Regions from separate parts of the Homo sapiens genome. Here region 1 is linked to region 2. The links are contacts of gene promoters, found by promoter capture Hi-C in human tissues and cell types (Jung and others, 2019). All regions are on one chromosome and are shown on one strand. Each heading gives the region's core, a stretch centred on a gene start or on the middle of the fragment in contact. The rest is flanking DNA. Distances are from core to core; before and after follow the strand shown. Region 1 holds the start of PEX11A (peroxisomal biogenesis factor 11 alpha). Region 2 holds the start of ZNF710 (zinc finger protein 710).

Region 1 (6,862 bases), core at 905-3,404, 310 kb before region 2:
CCAGGCTGGTCCCGAACTCCTGACCTCATGATCTGCCCACCTCAGCCTCCCAAAGTGCTGGGACTACAGGTGTGAGTCACTGAACCCGGCCTAAATGATGATGATTATTATTTTTAATGTTTTTATTTTTTTTTTAGAAGGAGTCTCGCTCTGTTGCCCAGGCTGGAGTGCAGTGGCGTGATCTTGGCTCACTGCAAGCTTTGCCTCCTGGGCTCATGCCATTCTCCTGCCTCAGCCTCCTGAGTAGCTGGGACTGCAGGCGCCCACCACAACGCCCAGCTAATTTTTGTATTTTTAGTAGAGACAGGGTTTCACCATGTTAGCCAGGATGGTCTCGATCTCCTGACTTTGTGATCCGCCCACCTCAGCCTCCCAAAGTGCTGGGATTACAGGTGTAAGCCACTGCACCCGGCCTAAATGATTATTTTTTTAACCAACTTCCTTGATAAACCCTGCAGGGTACATTCTAGGTACACTGGAATTACAGGTTTCTATTTAATGAAATTTCTATTTAATGAAGCTTGTATATAAAGTAACCATTTAAAAAACCTATCAAACTAATGAGAAAGCCAGTATAGCTTGGTAGTTAAGTGGGCACTGGAGTCATTTGCGTGGATGTGAATCCCTCAGTTCTGCCATTGTAGTACCTATTAACCTCTTTCTGCTTCAGTTTCTCCATCTGAAGTGGGTAAAATATTTAGAGTATCTACCTCATAGGGTTGTGATGAGGGTTATATAAGTTCATAGTTGCAAAACACTGGGAACAATAGCTGTCATAAAGATGGCTTCCAAAAGCCTCATTATTGGGGCCATTCTAATTGATCTGTTTGTATCAGCACTTGCACACCCAGAAGAGAATGCAGAGCTGTTAAATAAAACTGCAACTGTAAATATTTTTTCATTAAGCAAGAATCAACCAAATCTCTAAAACATCATGAACTAGTACTGTATTCGTATTAAAGATACAATCTCTCAGTTCTTTTCGTTTCTTATGGAACCAAAAGAAAAAGAGACACAATCTCTGTTTAATATTTTCAGTAGCACAGCATGAACCTTAGAGGTGCAGTTAGTTCTTTCTGAGCTTCTCCCCACTGTATTTCCCCCCAATCCAGTTGGTGTGGTCTCATCCCCGCTATATTTTGTTTTACAATTTACAAAACTATTCCACATGCAGTATCTCAATGATACAGCCTGGGTAATAATGGAAGAGAACTTCTGTCTCTCCTCAAACATTTCAAGAGGTATTTGAGACCGGGCGCGGTGGCTCGCACCTGTAATCCCAGCACTTTGGGAAGCCGAGGTGGACAGATCACCTGAGGTCAGGAGTTCGAGACCAGCCTGGCCAACATGGCGAAACCCCCGTCTCTACTAAAAATACAAAAAGTAGCCGGGCGTGGTAGTGCACGCCTGTAATCCCAGCTACTCAGGAGGCTGAGGCAGGAGAATCGCTTGAACCCGGGAGGCAGAGGTTGCAGTGGGCCGAGACCGCGCCACTGCCTGGGCGACAGAGCGAGACTCCGTCTCAAAAGAAAAAAAAAAGAGAGATATTTGAAGTCACACCAAGTGGTTTGCTTCCCTAGCCACAAATACTAATCCAAAGTTTCTCTTTAAAGGAGATCCCTCGGAAGAATGTTGAGTGGAGAGAACCAATCTTTCTGTGCCCGGAGAGCAAAGTTAGGAGGGGAGGAGGATCTGTCAGCCGGTGTCCCGTCGTCGGCGGTCTCGAGGCGGCTAGGGTGCCAGGCACTGGGGCTTTCGTGCACGGGGCTAGGACGGGACGCGGGTGCGTTGGGCCCACTCACGTTGAATTTAGGGTAAGGAGGGGCTCGGATACTAAACTCCCTCCGTAGGAGCTGGCAACGTCCTTCCTGCTTCCATCTACTAGGCTATCACCTCCTTTTTCCCGGGTGCAGGGGAATAGGCACGGGAGCCGAGTTAGGGCGAGAAAGGGGCGGAGGCCGCTGGCACCTGACTCACCTGAAGAGTCGGTCCCGGCCCTGGGTCTGGTTGGTGAAGCGGGTGAAGGCGTCCATGGCTTCTAGCCCAAAGGCCACGAGTCGCACGGGGCTCAGGCGTGGGTCCTCTGGGGCCCGTCGGATCCCCAGGGAACGGTCAGTCCCAGGTTATCCGCTGAGGGGGAGGGGCTGAGTCTCTCCGCCCCAGAGGGGGCGGGCACACTTTCTGTAGAGCAACTTCGCGGACTTCCGGTTCAAGCCGGAAGTTGTGGTTACCAAGGCGACGCAACGCCGCCCGGCCAGGTGAGCAAAACTGATCTTACCTTTGGATGCCGGGGCTCCCCTCGAGTCCCAGGACTCCCCTTTACCTGTAGAGTCTCCTAGAGGAAAGTCTGAGGGGGTCCGTCTCCCCAGACTCGGGCGTTTCCGGATGCCTGACGCCTCCCCGCAGATCTCAGGTTCTCAGGAACCCGGGGTGATATCCCGAATGGTCTCTCCAGCCTCAGAACTCCCCTGAGCTCTTGCTTGGGACGGTGGGGCCTAATCATTTCCCAGCGCCGTGCCTCTTTCCCTTGAGCTACACCAGCTCTATGTCTGGTGAAGGAAGTGGTTAGGTCAGAGATAAGCCAATTTCACAGTGTGAACCTAGCATGGGAGGCGGATGAAGTGAGAAAATGTTCTGCTTGGATTATTGAACATTGAAAGAAGATTGTTACCTGAGGAAATCCTAAAAGAGTCATTATGAGCAAAGTGAAGCAAAAATAGATTGCAATGAAATTGCACCGCTGAACATTCGTTCTGTGCGGCTTGAAGAAAAGGAGCCTTACCCACTCCGTGGCAGTAATTTTATAAAATGTACCCTCTATAACCACAAAATAAGGTCGGCCGGTGCTGTGGCTTACGCCTGTAATCCCAACACTTTGGGAGCCGAGGTGGGCGGATCACCTGCGATCAGGAGTTGGAGACCAGCCTGGCCAACAGGGTGAAACCCCGTCTCTACTAAAAATACAAAAAAAGTAGCCGGGCGTGGTGGTGGGCGCCTGTAATCCCAGCTACTCGGGAGGCTGAGGCAGGAGAATCGCTGGAACCCAGGAGGCGGAGGTGGCAGTGAGCCGAGATTGTGCCACTGCTTTCCAGCCTGGGCGACAGAGCGAGACGCTGTCTCAAAAAAATAAAATAAAATAAAATAAGGTGAACATTTTCGTAATCTTTATTCCCTTGGTCAGGCCAGCTCCTAACATTTGCAGGCCCTGGGTAAGAGTACAAATGGAGTCCAGCACACCGTATGTTTAAATATTTTAGTTATAAATCAAGCAACAAATTGTAAAGTAAAATATAGTCTGTTTTCCTACATTGACAAATAGACCCTCATAATGATGTAGAAGGCCAGGTTCATCTTCAGAATCCCTAGACTCCTTAGAATACCTGGAAACACAGCTGGAATATGGCAGTGTGGGGAGAAATGGCTCCCAGTCTTTTCCCACTTCCCTTTCTTTTCTGGTTTCTGGTGCCCACCTGCATTCCCTGCCAGGAGCCTTGTATACCATCCTGATACTCCAAGCCACATCCAACGTCTGCCCGTACCTCTGCAAGCAGCCATGCCTTTGCCACCTTTTCAGATCGAGGAGTGCTCACATTAGCAGCTGGGTCTGCCCTCAGGTGAAAGCTGAGAAGGGCTCATGCAGGCCATGGTGTCATTTGGGCAGTAAATTCCAGGGGTATTGGTACCCTGAACATGGTCTAGACTCCAGAAGAGGGAAACTAGGCTTTGGGTGAGCATATCTCCTTGGCCCCATGGGTTACTCATTTTTTGTAGAGGAAAGAGCCTCGAAGAGAGCCAGAAGTTTTCTCTAAATACGTGGCCCAGGTCAGGGCAATTCTGCAAGCAATGAGAATTTATTGAGTCCTGGCCATATACCAACCACTGTGCTAAACTCTAGTCGTAGGGTAATAGGTTAACAAGGAACACAGTAAACTGATAAGTACAACACAGAGATATGTTAGATGATAGAGGTGAGCACAGGGTGCTTCTAAACACAGATGTGTATCATCTGTTTTTTGTTTTTGTTTTTGAGACAGAGTTTTGCTCTTATTGCCCAGGCTGGAGTGCAATGGCGCAATGTCAGCTCACTGCACCCTTCGTCTCCCGGGTTCAAGCGATTCTCCTGCTTCAGCCTCCTGAGCTGGGATTACAGGCATGCGCCACCACGCATGGCTGATTTTTTATATTTTTAGTAGAGATGGTGTTTCACCATGCTGGTCAGGCTGGTCTGGAACTCCTGACCTCAGGTGATCCACCTACCTCGAGCTCCCAAAGTTCTGGGATTACAGGTGTGAGCCACCACGCCTGGCCTCATCTGTTTTTTATACCTACAATTCTGCCTTTTTCACAATATCATATAAATTGAATCATATAGTATGTAGCGTTTTCTTTTCTTTTCTGATTTATTTTACTTAGCATAATGCATTTGAGATTATCTATGTTGTGCACATCAGTAGTTTGTAATTTTTTATTCCACAATGTGAATGTATTATAATTCATTATCCATTCACCCACTGAAGTACATTTGTGTTGTCTCTAATTTGAAGCCATTATAAATAAAGCTGCTATAAATATTTAAGTACAGATTTTGATGTGAAACATAAGTTTTAATTTTCCTACTGTAATATGCAGGAATGTGATTGCTGAAACATATGGTATGTTTAACTTTGTAAGAAACTGCCAAACTGTTTTCCAAAGTGGCTATCCTATTTTGTATTACCACTGACAATGCGTGAGAGCTTATCTGTTTGCCTGTTGGTGGACATTGGGTTGTTTCCACTTTGGGGCTCCTACAAATAAAGTTGTAATGACTGTTCGTGTACAAGTCTTTGTATGGACATATGTTTTCAGTTCCCTTCTACCACTCCTAAGAGTGGAATGACTGGATATGATGGTAGATAATGTGTTTAACTGTCCTGCAGGGGACAGGCCTATGCAAACCTACCCCTAAAAGTCTGAGAAAGCTGAGAGGCCAAAGCAAGAGGCTGACATACCCAGTTTCTCAGAAACAAACATTTAATAAATAAATACAATTTAAACAAACAAACAGAAGCCATGTCTCAGGAGCAAGACAAGATGGTGGATCCCTGCCATTATCCACCAGACCCAGGGTTTCTGTGCTATAGAGAAAGGTGCTTCAGAAGGAATGTGTAAGATAATTGCTTAAGGACAGAATTTATGGCAAGAATGATAACATCAAGGTTGTTTTGACCTAAGGGCAATATTTACAGTAAGTGGTGCTCTTACACAAGGAATGAGTCAAATGGAAATCTTAGAGGTTTTTCTGGAACTGGGGATAATCAGAAGTTAACATGGAGGATTAGCATCTAAGATGGAGTTGCTTTGGCCTCCACATTAGCGTTTTAAGAAATTGCCAAACTGTTTTCCAAACCAGTTGTACTATTTTGGTTTCCCAATAGTGTGTATGAGCATTCTTATTGTACATCTTCAACAACACTTTCATGGTCTATCTTTTTAACTTTAGGCATTTTAATATACGTGTAGTGGTATCTCATGATTTTAATTTGCATTTCACAAATGACTAATGATGCTGAACATCTTTTTATGAGTCTATCTGCCATCTGTATATCTTCTTTGGTTAAGTATCTGTACAAATTTTTTGCACATATTTAAAAATTGTTGGGTTATTTCTTTTTTTTTTTTTTTTTTTTGAGATGGAGTCTCGCTCTGTCGCCCAGGCTGGAGTGCAGTGGCACGATCTCGGCTCACTGGTTTCACACCATTCTCCTGCCTCAGCCCCCCGAGTAGCTGGGACTACAGGTGCCCACCGCCATGCCCAGCTAATTTTTTGTATTTTTTAGTAGACATGGGGTTTCACCATGTTACCCAGGATGGTCTCGCTCTCCTGACCTCATGATCTGCCCGCCTTGGCCTCCCAAAGTGCTGGGATTACAGGCGTGAGCCACTGCACCCGGCCGGGTTACTTCTTTTATTACTGAGTTTTGAGAGTTTTAAAAATACTCTGGACAAAAGTACTTTATCAGATAAGTGACTTGCACATATATTTTCTCCCCATCTGAGGATTACCTTTTATTCTCTTAACAGTGTGTTTTGAAGAAACACAAGTTTATTTTTGAAAAGGTTTAAATGACCAGTTTGTTCTTTTTAGGTTATACTTTAATGTCATATCTAGGAAATCTTTGTCTAAGAGAAGATTGCCAAAGTTTTCTTCTAGAAGTTTTATAGTTTTCAGTTTTACATTTAGGTGTATGATTTTACTTTGAGTTAATTTTTGCATATGGTGCAAGGTATGGATCGGCATTCATTTTTTTCCTATATAGATATCTAATTGCTCCAGCATTATTTGCTGAAAAGAATATCCTTTTTCCACCGAATTGTCTTTGTGCTTGTGTCAAAAATAAGTTCTCCATATATGTTTGCATCTAATTTAGGACTCCCTATTTGATTTCATTGATCTGTTTGTTTATTTTGATACCAATACCACACTGTCTTGAATATTGTAACTTTGTGATAAGTCTTGAAATTAAGTAGTGTTAGTCCTCCAATTATGAGTTGTAAAGTTAGCTTCTTAATTTCTGGAAAAAAAAAAGCCACCTGGGATTATCATAGGGATTGTGTTGAATTTGTACATGAATTTGAAAAGAATTGACATTTTAACAAAATTGAGTCTTCCAACTCATAAATAAGGTATCACACTCTCCATTTATTTAGGTCTTCTTTAATTTCTGTCAGCAATATTTTATAGTTTTCAGTATGTGGGTGGGTGTTTTTTAGAGAGGGAGTTTCGCTGTATTGCCCAAACTGGAGTGCAGCAACATGATCATAGCTCACTGCAACCTTGAACTCCTGGACTCAAAGCAATCCTCTCACCTCAGCCTGCTGA
Region 2 (6,989 bases), core at 733-3,232:
GCACCTTCGCCGGCACGGGGTAGGTACTCAGTAGGCATTTGTTAAGTGCATGCTTGGCTCTAAGAGCTGCATTCTGCTTTTTTGGAGGATGCAGCTTGGGTGTACTAAGTGGGAGGCTGCAAGTGATGACGGAAATGTGGTTTCCTGCAGACCTGGGCAAAGGCCCTGGGGTCATTGGGGGCTCAGGGTGCTGATGTTAAAAGACCATGGTGTCCTTCTTGTTGAACCAAACTCTCAGGCTACTGTTTCCTCACTCCTCGTCAGAGACAAATGTGTTCTGAGTGACTGGAGTCATAGCTCAGAGCACCAGGAGCTGGTTTAGGGTGGGGCGAGGGGCCGTGGCCTTGGGGCTCTCGTTTCTAAAGGCCCAGGGCTCAGGGCTGGGGGGAGGGGTGAGGAGTGGCAGGTCGTGTCCCCGGGAGGCTGCAGTCACTGGGGGAGAGACAATGGGGCTCAGCATCTGCTCCTCCCTGGGAGAAGGGACCCTTCAGTGAAAAGCCAGGGAGAGCAGGGAAGTGTGGGAGGAATTGATGAGGAGAAGGGGTGGAGCCAAGGAGATGCAGCCGGGAGGAAGGAAGGGAAGGGAAGGAAGGGAAGAGGGAGGGGAGAGGATCCAGGCTTTCCTTCCTCCCGGTGACCTGGTCCTGAGCCGCAGCTTCCCTTGCATTGTTCCCTGAGTTTGCTCTCGGGGCCCACCGAGACCTCACGTTTCTCCCCCTGGCTGCAGCCCCAGTCCGAGGGCCCGGCATCCAGCAGGTGCTCAATACTTACTTGGGAAAATGACAAATGTGACCAACTTTGCTTTGGGAACTTTCCCCCGTCTTCTCCCCACTCCTCCGGAGAACCCGAGGACAGAGCAGGTCTTGGGAGCACGCCCGGGCGCCCCATGAATAATTGACCCTTCCTGGCGGCACTGCCCGGCTCTGTCCGAGGGCTCCGGACCCGCCCTGCGTTGCAGTCGAGAAACGGCTCGGAGTGGCGGGTGTTCTGGAGGTTGGAGGCCTGGTGTCCGGCCTGCGCCGGAGCTGGAGGGCGGCGAGGCTGTGCCAAACCCCGCGGCCCCTCAGGGAGCCGAGAGGGACCTGACGGCCGCGCTGCCAGCGACCACGCCTCGGCGCCCCCCAGCAGTGCGCCCCGGGGCCGAGGCCCAGGCCCTGGGCTCGGGGACCCCGCCAGCCCGCCGATCCCAGCAGCTGCCCTGAGCCCCTTCTCCACCCGGGCCCTGGCGCTCGGAGCCCGCGCCGCTCCCTCGAGTCAGGCCGTCCAGGGCTCTGCTAACAGCTGTTTAAAGGCTTTTGCTGTTCAGTGCTCTGCGGGGATGTTTGTTCCAGGCCCATCTGCCTACTTTAAAAATACATAAGTGAAGCACACACACCCAGCTTGCCACCTCTGGCTGGGGAGGGGCGGGCTCGGCGGCCCTCGCTCGCACTTGGGAAGGAACCGGCACCCAGGAGCCGCACCCGTGCCCCAACACCCGCACCGGCTCTCCTCTCCAGAGGACGCCCCTGGCTTCCCTTGGGGGGGGCGGGGCGCAGGGCCCCCGGGCCCCCTTTGTACCGGACAGGGCCGGGCCCCCCATTTCCAAGCGAGGTCTGCCTCTTCCCCGCTTCAGTTAATCTTTGTTCCCCTTTTCTGCTGAGAGGAGAAAAAAAAAAGAGAGAGAGAGAAAGAAAGAAAAGAAGGAAAAAAGGCGTGACTTGATTTTCAAACGAAACTCCCACAGCAAACAAAACCCTTTTAGAGAAATAAGAAAGGAGGAAGAAGGAAGAAAAGAGGGAAGAAAAAAACAGGAGAAAGAAAACCCTTCAGGCTTTCAATTCGAGTGGGAGAGTTGAACCGAAAGAAAGAGAAAGAAAGGAAGAAAAATCCTCTGCGGTAGAAAGAGAAAAGAAAACTTGGGCTGACAAGAGGGAGGTGTTGGGGGTGGAAGGAAGTGAGAAAACAAAAGAGAGATAAAAGGGCTGCTTTTCTGTCTCTCTCTTCCTCTGCGAGCTGGCTTAGGAGGAGCTGTTTTGCATCCCTTCACGTCAGCCCTGCCTCATTCCCTTCTTCCAGGGAGGGAGAGAGCGCGAGCGAGAGAGCGAGCGAGAGGAGGGGGGAGAGAGAGAAAGAGAGGAGCCGGAGGGAGGGCGGCAGGAGCAGGCGGCGGGCGCGCGTGGAGGCGGGCGGCGGGCGCACAGCAGCAGCCCGGGCGGTGGGCAGCCAGGAGCCCCCGGCCCGGCCCGGCCCGGCCCGCCGAGGGCCCCAGCGCAGGAGCCGCGCCCGGACCCAGGGTGAGTGTCCCGCGCGGCCCCCCGCCCCAGCCCCAGCCCCAGCCCCGCAGCCCCGCGCTGCCGGCCGGCGGGGGCGCGGGGGGCGCGGGGGTGGGTCGCTGCGGCCGCGGCCGACCCGCCCCCCGCCTCTCCCTGGGGACGGCCGCGCGCAGGCCCGCGCCGCGCTGCAAACATGTCGTCTTTTCCTTTCACTTCCACATTCCCTCATGCCGGAGAGCTGGAGGGAGAGAGGGAGAGCCGGGGAAAGAGGGAGAGATGGCGTCTGGGGTGGGGGGGAGGGAGAGGAGGGGGAGGGGGAAGGGAGAGGGAGGGAGCGAGCGAAAGAGGGCGAGAGGGAGGAGAGCGCGCGAATGAGAGAGAGAGAGAGAGAGAGAGAGAGAGAGGCAAAAATGAAAGGAAAGCGTCGCGGCGGCGGCGGCGGCGGCGCGGGAGGCCCGGGAGGCGACGGTGGCGGAGGCTCTCGGGCCCGCACGTGGGTGTCCCGGTGCTGGGTGCGCTCCCCCCACACCCGGCCCGGGACTCAAAGTTTCACCCCCTCGCCGCCCCGCCCCTACGGCTGCCCACAAACTTTATTCTCGGAGCGGGTGGGGTTGTTGCGCGTCCCAGCCGGCCGGGGGTGGGGGAGAGCTGAGCGCGCCGCTGGCGGGGCTGGGGGCGTCCCCGAGGGCCACTGGCCGCCGCACGCTGGGCGCCGCGGGATCTCCGCCGGGACAGCGTCGGGGCGCCGCGGGCCGGGGACCCAGGACCGGCGCTCGCTGTCTGGGGGCGTGGGGGTGGGGGTGGCGGGCGGGGTCCCTACGGCCCGTCTTGAGCCTCCCGCGGCTCAGCCCCCCTTCCTCCTCGTCGCCCTCTCTCCGTCTTCTCGCGGTCATTTTCCTAATTGGATGGAGCTGTGGGGCGTGAGCACCAGCGTCAGATCGGGGCCCTCAGGCTACCAGGTGGGCGCGCGGGCTCGGGGACCGACGGGGCAGCCCCAGCCTCCCCACCCTAGGCGCACAGATCCCGCAGATCCGGCCCTTGGGCCACCGCCCCCTTCACCGCGGACTTGCTAACTAGTGCGTATCGGGTTTTTTTCCAACTTGCCTTTTAAGATGACTTTTATGGGCGCTGCAACTGCTTCCCTCCAGTCTAAGCTGTAGTTTGGAAAGATTTAAGAGGCCAGGGAGGTGCTTGTGTGGATTTTAACCAACCTGAAAGGGTCATTCATGTATCTCTAGGATTTGCGAGACGGTTAGGGCAAGGCGTAGCAGTATCCGGGGTGCCTTTTCTTTTTTCTTGATATGGAGTCTTGCTCTGTCGCCCAGGCTGGAGTGCAGTGGCGCGATCTCGGCTCACTGCAGCCTCCGTCTCCCGGGTTCAAGCGATTCTCCTGCCTCAACCTCCCCAATAGCTGGGACTACAGGCGCACGCCACCACGCCCGTTTAATTTTTAATTATTTTTAGGAGAGACGGGGTTTCACCATATTGGCCAGGCTGGTCTCAAACTCCTGACCTCGTGATCCGCCCGCCCCGGCCTCCCAAAGTGCTGGGATCACAAGGACTCTTCGAGGTACTCGTCCTACTGGGTCTGAGGGAGGCCTGCCGGGCAATCCAGTGAGGGACCAACGTCATGGCCCACCCTTGAGCTGCAGGCCGAGTGCCCACCTGCAAAGGGCACCCTGAGCACCTTTCTTGCTGTGCAAAATGGAAACTCCCGGCCGGTATCGACCTGCAGTGTACATAACTAGTCCCTGTGGGCATCTGGGAAATTCACAAAACTCCCCCACAGGTGTGCGGAGAAGGACTTTGTGCTCTTGGGGGTCACTCAGCCAGCTTTGAAGCTGCCCTCTCAGTCCTGCATTTGTACACGTGTAAGTAAAACCAGTCAAAGTTCATTTCTGCCAAGTAGAGGGCTGGGGGTCTGTGTCCCTATTGCATCTTCACCAGGGGGCCTAGAGAACCAATGGGGCCACGTGGGAGAAGGGAAGAAGAAAACCGTTCTTAACTCGTTAGATAAGAGACAGTGTATTCCTAATGTGATCAAAGCCGATGGGGCTATCTGGTTTTGACTTCTGAAAACCTAGAGTGGCCATTCCTTTCTCATTTGTTTTAAAGAGAATGTTATTTTCTATACTTTCTCATTGGTTTTATTAGCTGACCCTCAGGCCAGGGTAACTGTGCTGGGTACCTGCCAGTCTCGGAGCAGAACCTCTGATCGGTCATCTGTAGCTCCAGAGAGGTGCCCACCTGGTGCCCCAGTGACCTTCTGGAGCTGGCTTTCCTGCATGAGGGCCGTGGGGATAGAGCTGCTTTCTTTTGGGTAGGGGGAATTGGATGTTTGGGTCACATTTTCTTCCTCCAGCCTGGCCTGGTTGCCTGTGTCTTGGTGGAGGGGGCTGCAGTGAGTTGAAGTGGGACGCGGGCTCACTTGCTTGTCTTCTCAGAGCTGATACCTGGGTGAGTCCTCAGCCCACGGTGTGTGGTCAGCGGGCCATTTTTCCAGGGCTTGGGTCATTTCCATTCCAACCAGGCATTTCCTACCAGGGAGACTTATTTTAGGCTCACTGTCTAGAGACAAGGAGACAGACAAGGTCTGGAATGGTTTTTGAGTTGGAGGAAGGGAGACTAATGGGACCACCAGAGATTTTGCACTTCTATTTTAGGTTTGCCTTGTGGCCCAGAGATATTTCTAGCAGAGTTGTGTTTGGAAAGAAGCACAACTTCTTTCTAGAAGGGAGTAAATAAATAAATAAAGGAGGAGTCCAGCGCATCTTGGAGGAGACAAGTGAAGTCAGCTCCCTGGCCCCACCAGTGCTGATGCTTGGCGCAGGCTCATAATCTGGCTTGCTGACCCCTCCCATACCCTCGTTCCTCAGGCCTAGCCAGGGCCTAGCCCGCGGCAGGACTCATTATGTTGAAATAAGGAATCTGTGAATGTGCTGGGCCTGCTGTTAATGGTGCTTGCTCCCAGCCCTTTGACTTCAAAGCTGGAAGAAGGCCTTAGAGATTGTCTGAAAGCAACTGAGGCAGGAAGAAAGCTCTGTACCCAGGATTACACAGTAAGTGGCAGAGCCAGCACTCAACCTGAGCTTTCAGAGCCTGTTCCCAGTGCTGTTTCTACAAGGCCACTGTCTCTGCTACTGCTGGGGATCCCGAATCAAGCTCACTTCAAAGAATGTAGCTATGAGAGCATGAAACCGTGCGCTCACGCCGCACACGAGTTGGGTAAATGGAGCGCCTCATTTTCCAGATGTGTTACAGAAACTGTGCTGGAGGATGTGACTGGCCAGTGAGACAACTAGGGGGAACTGGGTGATTCAGGCTGTTTCAACACTGACTTCTTCAAAGTCCAACAATCAGAGAAGCAGTTTAGTCATCGGGATTTTCTCACATCACACCATTTTTTGATCTGGAATGCTTTCTTCATACTTTGACTTGTATGTGATTTATTTAGGATTGGTCAGGAGAGAAGAGAAGGAGTGTAAGGACCCAAGACCTGAACTGATTTCCATCTGTGGGTTAAATGTACTAGAACGTTTGTGAGGGTAGACGTCTTTGCTTTGTTCATTGCGGAGCCCCTGTGCCTAGAATAGGGTCTGATCTATAGTGGGCCCTCAGTAGATACTTGCTGAATGAATGTACTGGACATTAGGGAAGATTTGCCTGCCAGAAGGAACCCATGAATGACACAGGCAGGGACAGGGAGGTGATTGATGGGAGCTGCAGAGTTGTGCTGTGAGTCATTGCTTCAAACAAGCTCCAGACAGGTGAGGCAGGAGGGGGCTGGGAAGAGAGGATCCTGAATGGGGTGGAGCCCCTGGGTGGAGACTTGTGCAAAACAATAGGTTTTTTTAGATTTTTTTTTTCTTTTTTTGAGACGGAGTCTCACTCTTTCACCAGGCTGGAGTGCAGTGGCGCGATCTCAGCTCACTGCAACCTTCGCCTCCTGGCTTCAAGCGATTCTCCTGCCTCAGCCTCCTGAGTAGCTGGGACTACAGGCATGCGCCACTACACCCAGCCTAATTTTTATATTTTTAGTAGAGACGGGGTTTCACCAGGTTGGCCAGGATGGTCTCGATCTCTTCACCTCGTGATCTGCCCGCCTCGGCCTCCCAAAGTGCTGGGATTACAGGCGTGAGCCACTGCACCCGGCCTAAAACAATAGGTTTTGAATTGGACTCAGAATATAGGGAGAATAATAATAATCATGTGTCTTAGGCCAGAATTATGCTACGTGCTTTGTGTATTTGTCTCTCTTAGTTCTTGCAGGTGCTGGCTCTTGCATTCTTATCCTCATTTGGCAGAGGAGTTAAATAACTTGTCCAAGGGCACAGAGCTGGTATCTAAACCCAGGCTGTCTAACTTCAAACTTTGCCTCTCAGGAACGATGATGTGGTCATATGTCTCTGCCCATGCCAAAGAGTTGGGCGTTCAGCACTTTGGGGTTCCTTGGAAGGACAGCAGCAGAAAAACTAAAGAAGAAATTGTGGGTCTGCAGCAGAGGGAGGCTGGTCAGGGAGTGTGCCTGAAGAGGGTTCACCCAGTGAGGCCTATAAGGGAATGCTTATTTTAGGGGCCTAACTGTTCCTCAAGCAGAGTGGCTGTTGTGAGATTAGGGCTATTTTGCACTTGATAAAGATGTAGGAGATCTTTTTATGGGCAAAGATTGCTTTTCAGGTTAAAGTTTAGTTGGCATATATTTGAAACTAGTGGGAATTTTAAAACTAAGAAATGTCC

Evidence for each region. The method cuts DNA at HindIII sites, captures the fragments that hold promoters and counts their contacts. A contact is called where the count stands out against the background at its distance.
Region 1: a contact is called between the fragment with the promoter of PEX11A here and the fragment with the promoter of ZNF710 in region 2, in 1 of the 25 tissues and cell types used here (lymphoblastoid cells).

The regions. Positions count from the first base shown.
Region 1 is chr15:89,688,600-89,695,461 of GRCh38, forward strand. It overlaps PEX11A (peroxisomal biogenesis factor 11 alpha), which reads right to left and starts at 2,155. Exons shown (of 3, transcript NM_003847.3): 1 at 1,978-2,155. The coding sequence starts at 2,033. WDR93 (WD repeat domain 93) reads left to right here and starts at 2,212. Exons shown (of 17, transcript NM_020212.2): 1 at 2,212-2,258. RefSeq lists an enhancer at 1,990-2,079. The HindIII fragment of the contact is 14,807 bases long and covers 360-6,862 here.
Region 2 is chr15:89,999,342-90,006,330 of GRCh38, forward strand. It overlaps ZNF710 (zinc finger protein 710), which reads left to right and starts at 1,983. Exons shown (of 5, transcript NM_198526.4): 1 at 1,983-2,273. RefSeq lists silencers at 1,435-1,604, 2,013-2,181, 2,597-3,096 and enhancers at 2,796-3,564, 3,565-4,332. The HindIII fragment of the contact is 12,330 bases long and covers 1-6,989 here.